2 separate regions of the Homo sapiens genome follow, and region 1 is linked to region 2. The links are contacts of gene promoters, found by promoter capture Hi-C in blood cells and fetal thymus (Javierre and others, 2016). All regions are on one chromosome and are shown on one strand. The core of a region is centred on a gene start or on the middle of the fragment in contact, and the rest is flanking DNA. Distances in the headings are between cores, read along the strand shown. Region 1 overlaps LOC105376652 (a long non-coding RNA gene). Region 2 holds the start of TSPAN18 (tetraspanin 18).

Region 1 (4,639 bases), core at 1,733-4,232, 380 kb after region 2:
CTGACTCTGCAGCCCCTCCCTCCAGCCGTGGTGACAGCAGAGCCATGGAAGCAGCTGGGCCTCCCAGTCCAGGCCCCTCTGGGATTGCCCTTCCCAACAGCTTGGCATGGCCCTGGCCCGCCACCTGGTGGCCACAACAACAATTGCCAGGACGTAGCCTCAGGCTCTGATCCCACCTCCCTCTCCCTGGGGGCAGCCTCTGCTACAAGGCAGTGGAGGAGCCCATGGCTCTTCCCAGAAGCCCTCTGCTCTAGTGGGCAGCATTTCTGAGACCCCTACAAAGTGCTTGGTGCTAAGCCCCAGGGCCACAGAGGCCTCTCCAGGGGTGAGGGTCACACATCTCTGAGACCATGAAGTCAGGCTGGACCGACCCTTCTAACATGATTTCCTTTAGGCAACAAAGAGTTCCTGGCACCGAGAAGGCTTTTACTTTGCAAACTCAAATGTGCAAGAAATCATCCGTTTTCACATTTGCTTTCAAATTTTCTCTCCAGTTCCTCCTCCTGGGCTCACCCACGCCTGAACTTCCCCCACCTGAGAGAGCACAGATGACAGCAAGTGTCCGTGGCCCCAGAGGGAAGGAAAGGGCCTCTGGGGTCACTGCAGTCCCTCTGGCCTCAAGCCCAGGCTGGCCATGTCTGTAGAGGTAGGAGGTCCCAAGCTCCTGCGCTTCCAGGGGCTCAGCAGTTTACACCCCGTTGGCAGCCCCAGCTTAAGGTGCAGGCTCCCTCGCAAGCCACACAGCCGTTCTCGTTGGAGGCCCTGCCACCTCTTGGGGTGCAGGGATTGGTTTCCTGTCACCCATGGGTCCCACCACCCTCAGGGCCCTTTATAGGCTGGGGTGATTTTTGCTTTCTTTGCTGGTTCTCTCACGAGCTAGATGTTCTAGTTATACTGCTATGCTACAAACCACCCCAAAATTGAGCACATAAGACAGCCATTTTATTATAGCCATGGATTCTGTGGGTCAGAAATTTGGAAAGGGCATCATGGAGACAGTTTACCTCTGCCCATAATGCCTGAGGCGCCGGCTGGAAGATTAAGGCTGGGGTGACTTGACGGTGGTGGCAGGAACCCTCTGGTGGGCATCCTCACGTGCAGGTCTGAGGCCGACACGGGCTGCCACCTGGGACACTGACCCATCTGCTCCACTCCACGTGGTCTGTGAGTTCTTTTTAGCACAGCAACTGGGTTCTAAGAGTGGATGTCGCAGGAGAGCAAGGCAGAAATGCGTGGCATTTTCTAGATCTAGCCTGGGAAGTTACAGAGCATCTTCTGCCATACTCTACTGGTCAAGGCAGTCACAAAAGTCTATGAATCAGAGATGTGGGGTGGAGTTGGGCTCAGATTGAGCACTGAGTGAAAAAGCTTCACTGCAAACAGGGATACCCCCAGAACAAAGTCCAGGCTTTGTGGGGAGGAGAAATGAAGCAGATCTGCTAAAGCCAAAAGATGGAGAACTGCTTCTGTCTGTGAGTGGGGTGGGTTGGCCAGCAATACCTGGGCTTCACAGGTCAGTATGGGGCTGGCTGAAGGCACCCACCTGGTGTTTAGGGGGCCCAGGGGCCTCCATAGAGCAAGATAAGTGCCACGTTAGCACACCAGGGTCACCAGGCAGCCAGGACAGGTGACTATCTCAGGGTCTGATGGAAGCTCAAAGTCCAGATGCTCTGCTCAGCCCACTCCCGGGCTCCACACTGGTCTCCACCATCTGTGTGACCTGGGCTGATGACATCTTCGAACTCCACTTTCTCACCTGCAAAACGGGGCTAATTATAGTTCAATGAGTCATAGCCCATTTCAGGGGCAAGTTCTAAATCAGTAAGGCAAAAATTAGGTACACACAAAACGACCCTTGAGAACCTCTTATGCTCCCCACCAGCATGGATACACATGGTTTTGTGTATACAGTTGTGAAGAGTAAGTCTAATGAATGTCAAATGTGGACAACTGATGAAGCAGAACAGAGGGTGGATGGGGTGCAGTGGGAAAGCCAAGAGGGAGGTCTGGACTTCTGTGCCATCTGCCTTTAAGGAAATGCCCATCTCTAGTTGAGTGGGGGACAGGGCAGGGGTAGGGGTGGGGTTCCTCTAAGCCTGTCAGGTTTGCTGACTGGCTTTTCCGTGTTGCTTTCACACCAATCCTCTGTAGTGTTAAATGAACTGATAGATTTGCGTGGCATTGTACAAATTAAACTAGTTAATATACATAAAGGCTCCAGCACAGTTCCTGGCATATAATAAGTGCTCAATAAATGTGGGTTGGATTTTTTTTTTTTTTTGTGAGACAGAGTCTCGCTCTGTCACCCAGGCTGGAGTGCAGTGGTGAGAGCTCAACTCATCGCAACCTCCAACTCCAGGGTACAAGTGATTCTCATGTCTCAGCCTCCCAAGTAGCTGGGACTACAGGTCTACACCACCATGCCTGGCTAACTTATTTTGTGTGTGTATTTTGTATTTTTAGTAGAGACAGGGTCTCACCATGTTGACTAGGCTGGTCTCAAACTCCTGGCCTTGGCCTCCCAAAGTGCTGGGATTACAAGCGTGAGCCACTGCACCCCGCCCTGGATTCATCTTAATCTCGCTTGATCAGACCCATGCACGTGGCTCATTTTCAGCCAGTGCTGCCATCCTGGTTGTTAAAATATCAGCATGTGTCCACTCCAGTTGGTAAATAGCTGCTGTCTAATTCCCCATGAGTGTGACCCGCTGCCCTGCTGCCCTGGCCTCTTACGTGGGATCCCCGTGTCTCCCCATGATGCAGCAGCTTGAGGGGTGGCCTTGGTCCAATTGGGCCCCTGGGACCTGCTCAAGTACCAGGCCAGGTCTGTTCTGACTGTTGGTCCCATGAGCTTCTGGGGTTAAATATTTCAAAGATCACTCCTGCCCATGTGCCCACTGCTCTGTGAAAAGCTGGAAGCAGCAGCCAGGCACTGCCTCCTGCACTCTCGGCTGGCATTTCCTGCTGGGGCCCACGGATCCCTTGCTCAGCCTGGGCTCTGGCTCCTGCCCTTGGACAGGATTCCAGAGGCAGGTGTGTCCTCATGGTGGGGCCTCACTCCCGAGTGAGGACGAGCTGCCTCCTTTCAGGGAATGTGGTGCCCAGAGGCACCAGGGGCCTCTCAGTGGCAGCTGTCTTTGAAGTCCTTGGACCCATTTCTCCCCAGCCCTGCCTGTAGCTATGTGGGGACCCAGGCCCAGTGCCACTCAGACTTTCTCAGCCTGCCCCTGAAATACCCACTAATGCCAACCAAGAATTAACACATGCACCCGCAGGCCAGGCAGCCTGCCTGAAGCAGCTGACACAAGTGTGAAATTTCTTTGAAGTCTTGGGTTTTGTCTCAAAAAATACACGCAGATTCTGCATTCTGCTCCATAATGTTTCCATTTTTGTTTAAATCTAAAAATAGGGCTTTAAATGACTTCCAGTGAAGAAAGTTGCCTCTCCAGGAAGATGTCGGGGCTTAGCCTGTGAGACTGTCAACACCCCTGGCCACAGGCCTCTGGGCACTCAAGGCTGGAAACCGAAAAATGTTGTCCCCGCCCCTCAGGAAAGGTTGAGTCTGACTTTTCACCTCTGACCTGTGCTTAGGCACCCTCTTTGGGTCACCTCCTATTTCTGTCCCTCTGAAACTGCAGTTGGCCCTGACCCAGAGTGGTGAGGAGTGGCGGTCTCTTGCTACTACAGGTAGGATGCAGGCTTGGCAATGCCAGTGGCCATGGTTCTACCCACCCCTGCCTTGAAAGGAAAATAGCACAGCTCAAGAAAAGGGACACCCAGAGACAGCAGTGCCCTGACAACATCACTCACTCTCCTTGACCCAGCATCACCTTGGATGTCGCAGGGCTATGTGACCAGAAATTCCTCATGTTGCCCCTAAACATGGTGAGGCCCTGTCTCTACCATGCACAGATGAAAAGAGTCCTAATTAATCAACTCTCCCTAGAAAGGAGACCACTCGGAGGAGCCCTACTCATTCTCAAAATATTCAGAGGCTATCCTGCGGAGGAGGGAGAGTATCTGTTCTCTGTGGCTCCACTGGGCCACAACCAAGACTGAGGTGTGGGAGATGGAACAGGGCAGATTTAGGATGGTGGGAGGAAGTGCTTTCTGAGTCAGATCTTTCCAGGGAAAGCAGGGCCTGCTTATCAGGTAGTGAGCTCCTGTCCCTAGGGGTATGTAAGTGTAAGCTGATAACCTTCTGGTAGCAAAAAGGTAGAAAGATTGAAGCACTAGATGGGGAAGGGTGGGCTTTTGTCTCTAAAATTCCTTCCCTTTCTGAGTCTCTGGTTCCATGATACTCTCTAAGCCCTGTTCAGGGATGTTTCCTCCCCATTCCAGTGTCCAGGGTTGCTCACAGTCACCACTCCTTTCAAAGCTGGAGGCACTGCAGCAGTGAGCAGGTGGGCATCTGTGCCCTGTGTGACCTGCTGATAGCATAGACGTGGTTATCAGCCCTCTATATGTCAGGATTCTGACTAGGAAAACTCAGTGACCCAAAGTGACCTTCATCCAAACCTCTCCTTTATTTCTGTAGTTTATACACTTTGCGTGCAAACACCCCTGGGAGGGACAGTACCTACACCTTTGGCAATGCTAAGCTTCACACAAAGAATTTTTCATCTCCTTTCTTGGATCG
Region 2 (4,907 bases), core at 704-3,203:
TCTGCCAAGCCCCAGACCCTTAGAGACTCTATCCCTCTCTCTGCCTGTCTCTGGTCTCCACTTCCCCAGCTCCAGCACCCTTGCTGTGGGCTTCCCGTTTTTCCTCTTTAAATGTATGTGGCGCCTGGTGTCCAAGGAGGCTCACACGGGGCCTCTCCCAGCAGCATTCCACAAGTGCAGGGCCTGTGGGGTGTTCAGCCTCCACCCTCCATTCTGTTTTGGCAGCTGAAGGGTGAATGTGGAGCCCTTCTCCTTGTCCTCCTCTTATAGAAATTCCACCATTAGGGACTTCCTCCCCTTGGGTGAAGCTTTGCTCACTCTGGGTCCCTTTGAAACCGCGGATCCAGGGATTTTTCTTCCAGCCACGTGCCTACTCTAAGAGTCCCGGTGACGCGGTGAAGTTCTTTAAAGGACCAGACATCCCTGAAGTCCTTACAGGGACATCCCCTTACAGGGACGAATCCATTTCCTGGAATGTGGGCAAGGAAAGGCAGCCACTTCCTGCCTCTCAAAACTCTGGCTGGTGGCTGGGTGCAGTGGCTACGTCTGTCATCTCAGCACTTTGGGAGACTGAGGTGGGAGGATCACTTGAGGCCAGGAATTGGAGACCAGCCTGGGCAACATGGTAAGAGTCCAGCTCTACAAAACACACACGCACACACACACACACACACACACACACACACACACACACACCAAAAACAACAGAAAACATTAGCCAGGCATGATGGCACATGCCTCTGGTCCCAGCTACTCGAGGGGGCTGAGTTGGAAGGATTGGATTGCTTGAGCCCAGGAGGTCGAGCCTACAGTAAGCCGTGCAGGAGGTCGGGCTACAGTGAGCTGTGCTTGTTGACCAGGCTTGTCCAGCCTGGTCAGCAGAGCGAGACCTTGTCTCAAAAACAAAACAAAAACAAAACAAGAAGATCCCCCTCCCCCCAAACTCTGCCCAGTGGCCTGACTACCAACATCCATATACAAGACAGGAGTAGGGTCAACTCCTTCCTATCAGTCACCCCTTAGTGAGAATCAGCTGGCCAAGGGGCCTCCTGCAGAGCTGATGTGTGCTTGAATGCCTAGGGCCCACGGGGATGGGGTGTGGAAGCTTCAAGCTGGGACTCAAAACAGAGTTGCCAAGGGAAGAGGAGTGGGCGACCCGAGCCCCTGTCATCAGTACTTTCACTTGGGCTGTCAGTTTTGATCTGCTTGCTTGTCCGTTTTGTCTGGGGCAGGGTCGGGTAGTTGTTTAGAGGAGGCTCAGAGGTTAAAAGTCTCAGGCAAGTCATGTCAGGGGTTGGGAGCCAGTGCTGCTGTGGCAGCAGTACAGAGAAGAAAAGATAAGCTCCCCAGCCCCGCAAGAACCTCAGCCCTGAGGCCGGAGACACAGATCTGGCCCCTTGCAATCAAGTCATTTGCATCTGACCTGGGGTCAGGCCCCTCCATGCAGGAAGTCCCCTTTCTTATCTGCAAGTCAGAGGAGGGTGAGTTCCCCAGGCTTTCAACAGGTACTTCCCCCGGCAGCGGGAAGCCCAGGAGCCCGATCAGGACCGAGGATCTCACCCCAACCCCTGCGTTTGGGCCCCGGGGTCAGCTGAAAGTTCCCCTGGAATAAACACTTCGGGTCCAGCATGCCCCTCTCCCCACTCCCGCAACGATCTTCCGAATTCAGACGCAGAGAGGGCCCGCGAGCAGAGCGGGAGGTGGTCGGAGGCGGAGGAAGGGGAGATGGGCAGAGGGTGGGCCCAGGGACCCCCAGACAAGGCCTGGACGCGGGGTTGGAGGAGGAGGCGGAGGCTGGCGGGAGGCGAGGGGCAGCCCGCAGAGGAGACGCGCTTCTCGGCAGCAACGGCGTCTGGAGCCGGGAGGGGCGGAGGTTTGGGGAGGGGGAGGGAGGGCGGGGGAGGGGAGGGACGGACGGCGGCGGAGGTGGGGCCGGCGGGCTGGCGGGCGTGCAGCTGCCGCCGGCGTCGCGGGGCTCCAGGCTGCGGGGCGGACGTAGCGCCGAGCGATCCACCGCGGAGCCGCGCGAGGCCGCCCGAGCCCCAGCCCCGGCCCCGGCCCCAGCCCCGGCCCCGGCCCCGGCCCCGGCCCCGGCCCCGGTCCCGGCCCCGAGCCCCGAGCGAGCGCCGCCGCCTCGCGCTGCGGGTCCCCGGACGCGCCGCCACCGCCGGGAAGGCAGCCGGCGCCGGGCAAGTTGCGAGCGCGCCCCTCCGACCAGGAAAGTTTCCCCCCGGCCGCCGGCGGGATTTGGCGCGGGGTCCGGCAGCCGCCGCTGGAAGGTATGGGGCTCCGCACCTCCGTGCCCTCCGCACGCCGCCGCCGCGCCCCCGGGGACCTGGGGACCCCCCCGCGCGCCGCCCCGGGGGTGCTGCTGGACGCGGCGGGGAATTGGGGTGGAGTAGGGATCCCAGGACGGAAGCCCGGCAACCAAGTTCCACTCAAACTAGCACGCGGGGGCTGGGGGGCCGGGGACGGTCTCCACCCCGTGCCTGCCCGGAGTCCGCTGAGGGCCGGGGGCTGCGCCCAGGACAGGTGCAGAGCCGGTGGGCTCCCAGTGCTCCGGGTGGAGGAGTGGGGGCTTCTGGAGAACGGCGCGGGGTGGCAGGTGTGGTTACAAGGTTCGGGGTTTCGGCCAGGGCTGCGCCCGGAAAGGGGCTGCTCGCCACGCCACCCGGTAAGACAGTGAGGGACCAGGGACTGGGAGCGGCGATCGGGGCCGGGAGGGCTGTGGGGCCCGGCAGCTGCATGGAGGGCGGGCTGCCTTTGGGGTCCCTGGCAGCGGGGCGGGGCGGGGCGGAGGCGCCACTCGTTCCTCCAGGACCCCCCTTATTCCTTAGGTGTGTGCGGTTTGGGGAAGTGGAGACTCCATGGAGTGCTGGGTGGGTGGGAGGCTCGGGCACGTCCAGATTTAGGGGGCAGTGGGAGCCAGTTGGGACGGTGCTCGGCTCGGGTGGGATCGCGCCGGCTCCGGGTCCTGCTGGAGTGAGGTGACTGGGCTCCCGCCAGGGGGCGCACTGCCCCGGCCCTCGCCAGCAGGAAGCGCGTTCTGGCTCCTGCGAGGCAACCGCGCCGACATCCAGGACGCAGGGACCACAGACACCCAACTTACGCGGGGTCCCGCCCCGAGGAGCCCGCCCTACACTAGCCAGACGGGGGAGCGGGACCAAGAGTGAGGCGAAAGGTTCACAGTTATAACTGCGCCGTGGGCTGGAAAGGCTAGGAGTCAGGATGTGATTTTTCTCGGGAAGGCTGCCAGGGCAAATGGATGAGTAAGAAATTTACCCCCAGAAAAAGATGTAAGAAACTACAACTGCGAATTGGTGCAGAGAGAGTGGGTTGGGGAATTAACTTTTTGACGGTTTTTGGAGTTGCAGAAACCCAAACCCCAAAATGCATGCACCCTTTTTGTAAAAGTTGCACCTTTGTTTCCTGGATCTGGTCGAATCCCTGTCTGGTGAAGGCAGGATGGGGGTCTTGGGGTATCCTCTCTCTGGGCACAAGTAAACTGGGAGGCACAGGGCGGGCGGTGGGGGATGGGGCCTTAAAGACTTCAGCAGTCCAGGCAGAAGTGTTAAATTTCTCAGCAGTCAACGAGCCCTGGCCCCCACCCTCATCCCCTGGGTCTGTGGTCTCTAGGCCACATTCTTCTGGTCATTTCACAATTATTGGTGGAAATCTGCCCTGGGTCCCAGTTGTCTGGCCTCAGGGTCCCTGTATGTTGAGTCTGTGTGTCTGTGCCTTGGGAAGTCGACGGCTGCTGGCATCTGTGAGGACTGTCATCTTTGTCATGTGCGGGGCTAACATTGAAGGGACATTGGAGGGACTATTGCCTCATCTTTCTCTCCAGTTCCCTCCCTCCTCCCATCACCCCAAGTGAGTGCAAAGGAGCAAATCATAGATTGTGCCGTGGCCTCATTGTGGTTGGTAGAAGTTTTCATCTTTCTCTTAGCTGGTAACCTGTGCTCCTTGGGCAGCCCCCCTCCTGCTCCCATGTCCTTAATGTCCCTTACAAAGGTGGGGGAAATGGGGGTCCCTGAAAGAGATGAGGTTCCTCTGTTCAATGTAGTCTGCCACATGTTTTTGTTGGATGCTACTGAAATGCTCCAGGACAAAGTTGCCATAAAGACAGATCAGCATGATTTTTATTTTGAATAGAAGAGGAGGAGGAGAGAGGAGAGAAAGGAAAGGGTGGAGAAGCCTGCTGTGTCTGGATAGGTCTTTAAGACATTCCAGGGGGCTGGAAAACAAAAGAAGTTTTTTTTTGTTGTGTTTTGCTTTTAGTGACTCTTGTTTTTCTGTGGAGGGAAGCCTGCATGGACCAGCCCTGCCTTGGAACCTGCCTGGGAGCATGGGGCCCCTAGAAGGCCAGCGTTTCCCGTGTTCTGTCCCTCCCCTCTTCTCCCTACCCCCACCCCACTTTTCCTGAATTGGAGAGGGAGTTGAAGGTCCCCAAGGGCTACTAAAGTCTGTGTTTGGGCTTAAAGTATCTTGTGTGGGCTCAGTCTTCTCCCAGGCAAACTCCAAGATCTCTGATTTAGCAACATTTCAAGTCTTGGGCACTCTGTTTCCTTGTCTCCCTTGTCCCCAAACCCATTCAAACAGCCAGTATATGTGGTGCTTTTACCCAACCCCAGTCTGAAATGGTAGCACATCATTGAAAGCTCCAGGACACTTTCTAGAAGCCGAAGTTAGTTGGGTTTAGGATACCTTGGGGTTGGGTTTAGGACACCTTGGGCTGAGTCCAGGAAGGAACCCTCTGCCCTTTAAAAAATGAGATTTTAATGGTCTGAGGGGTGTGTTGGAGGGCAGGGTGCTGGGTAGGGACACAGGATTAATTCAAGGATGTGTGGGAGGGGGTGCCAGGAAGAGGGAAAATAGCAGATTTGAAATCTAGCTCTTCTGAGTCA

Evidence for each region. The method cuts DNA at HindIII sites, captures the fragments that hold promoters and counts their contacts. A CHiCAGO score of 5 or more calls a contact.
Region 1: a fragment that was not itself captured here is called in contact with the fragment with the promoter of TSPAN18 in region 2 in 5 of 17 cell types (M2 macrophages, M0 macrophages, total B cells and 2 more); the score reaches 9.4 in M2 macrophages.

The regions. Positions count from the first base shown.
Region 1 is chr11:45,105,565-45,110,203 of GRCh38, forward strand. LOC105376652 (a long non-coding RNA gene) reads right to left here. Exons shown (of 6, transcript XR_931241.3): 5 at 1,544-1,756; 6 at 921-1,194. It also overlaps a transcript of PRDM11 not described here. Among named protein-coding and RNA genes, the nearest start is that of PRDM11, 39 kb to the right of the region's middle. RefSeq lists a silencer at 136-225. The HindIII fragment of the contact is 3,233 bases long and covers 1,367-4,599 here.
Region 2 is chr11:44,725,009-44,729,915 of GRCh38, forward strand. TSPAN18 (tetraspanin 18) reads left to right here and starts at 1,954. Exons shown (of 10, transcript NM_130783.5): 1 at 1,954-2,279. The region is part of intron 2 of TSPAN18-AS1 (TSPAN18 antisense RNA 1); the gene reads right to left. RefSeq lists enhancers at 482-1,342, 1,343-2,204, 1,571-1,740, 3,456-3,958, 3,959-4,459 and silencers at 1,931-2,080, 2,917-3,086. The HindIII fragment of the contact is 6,014 bases long and covers 1,104-4,907 here.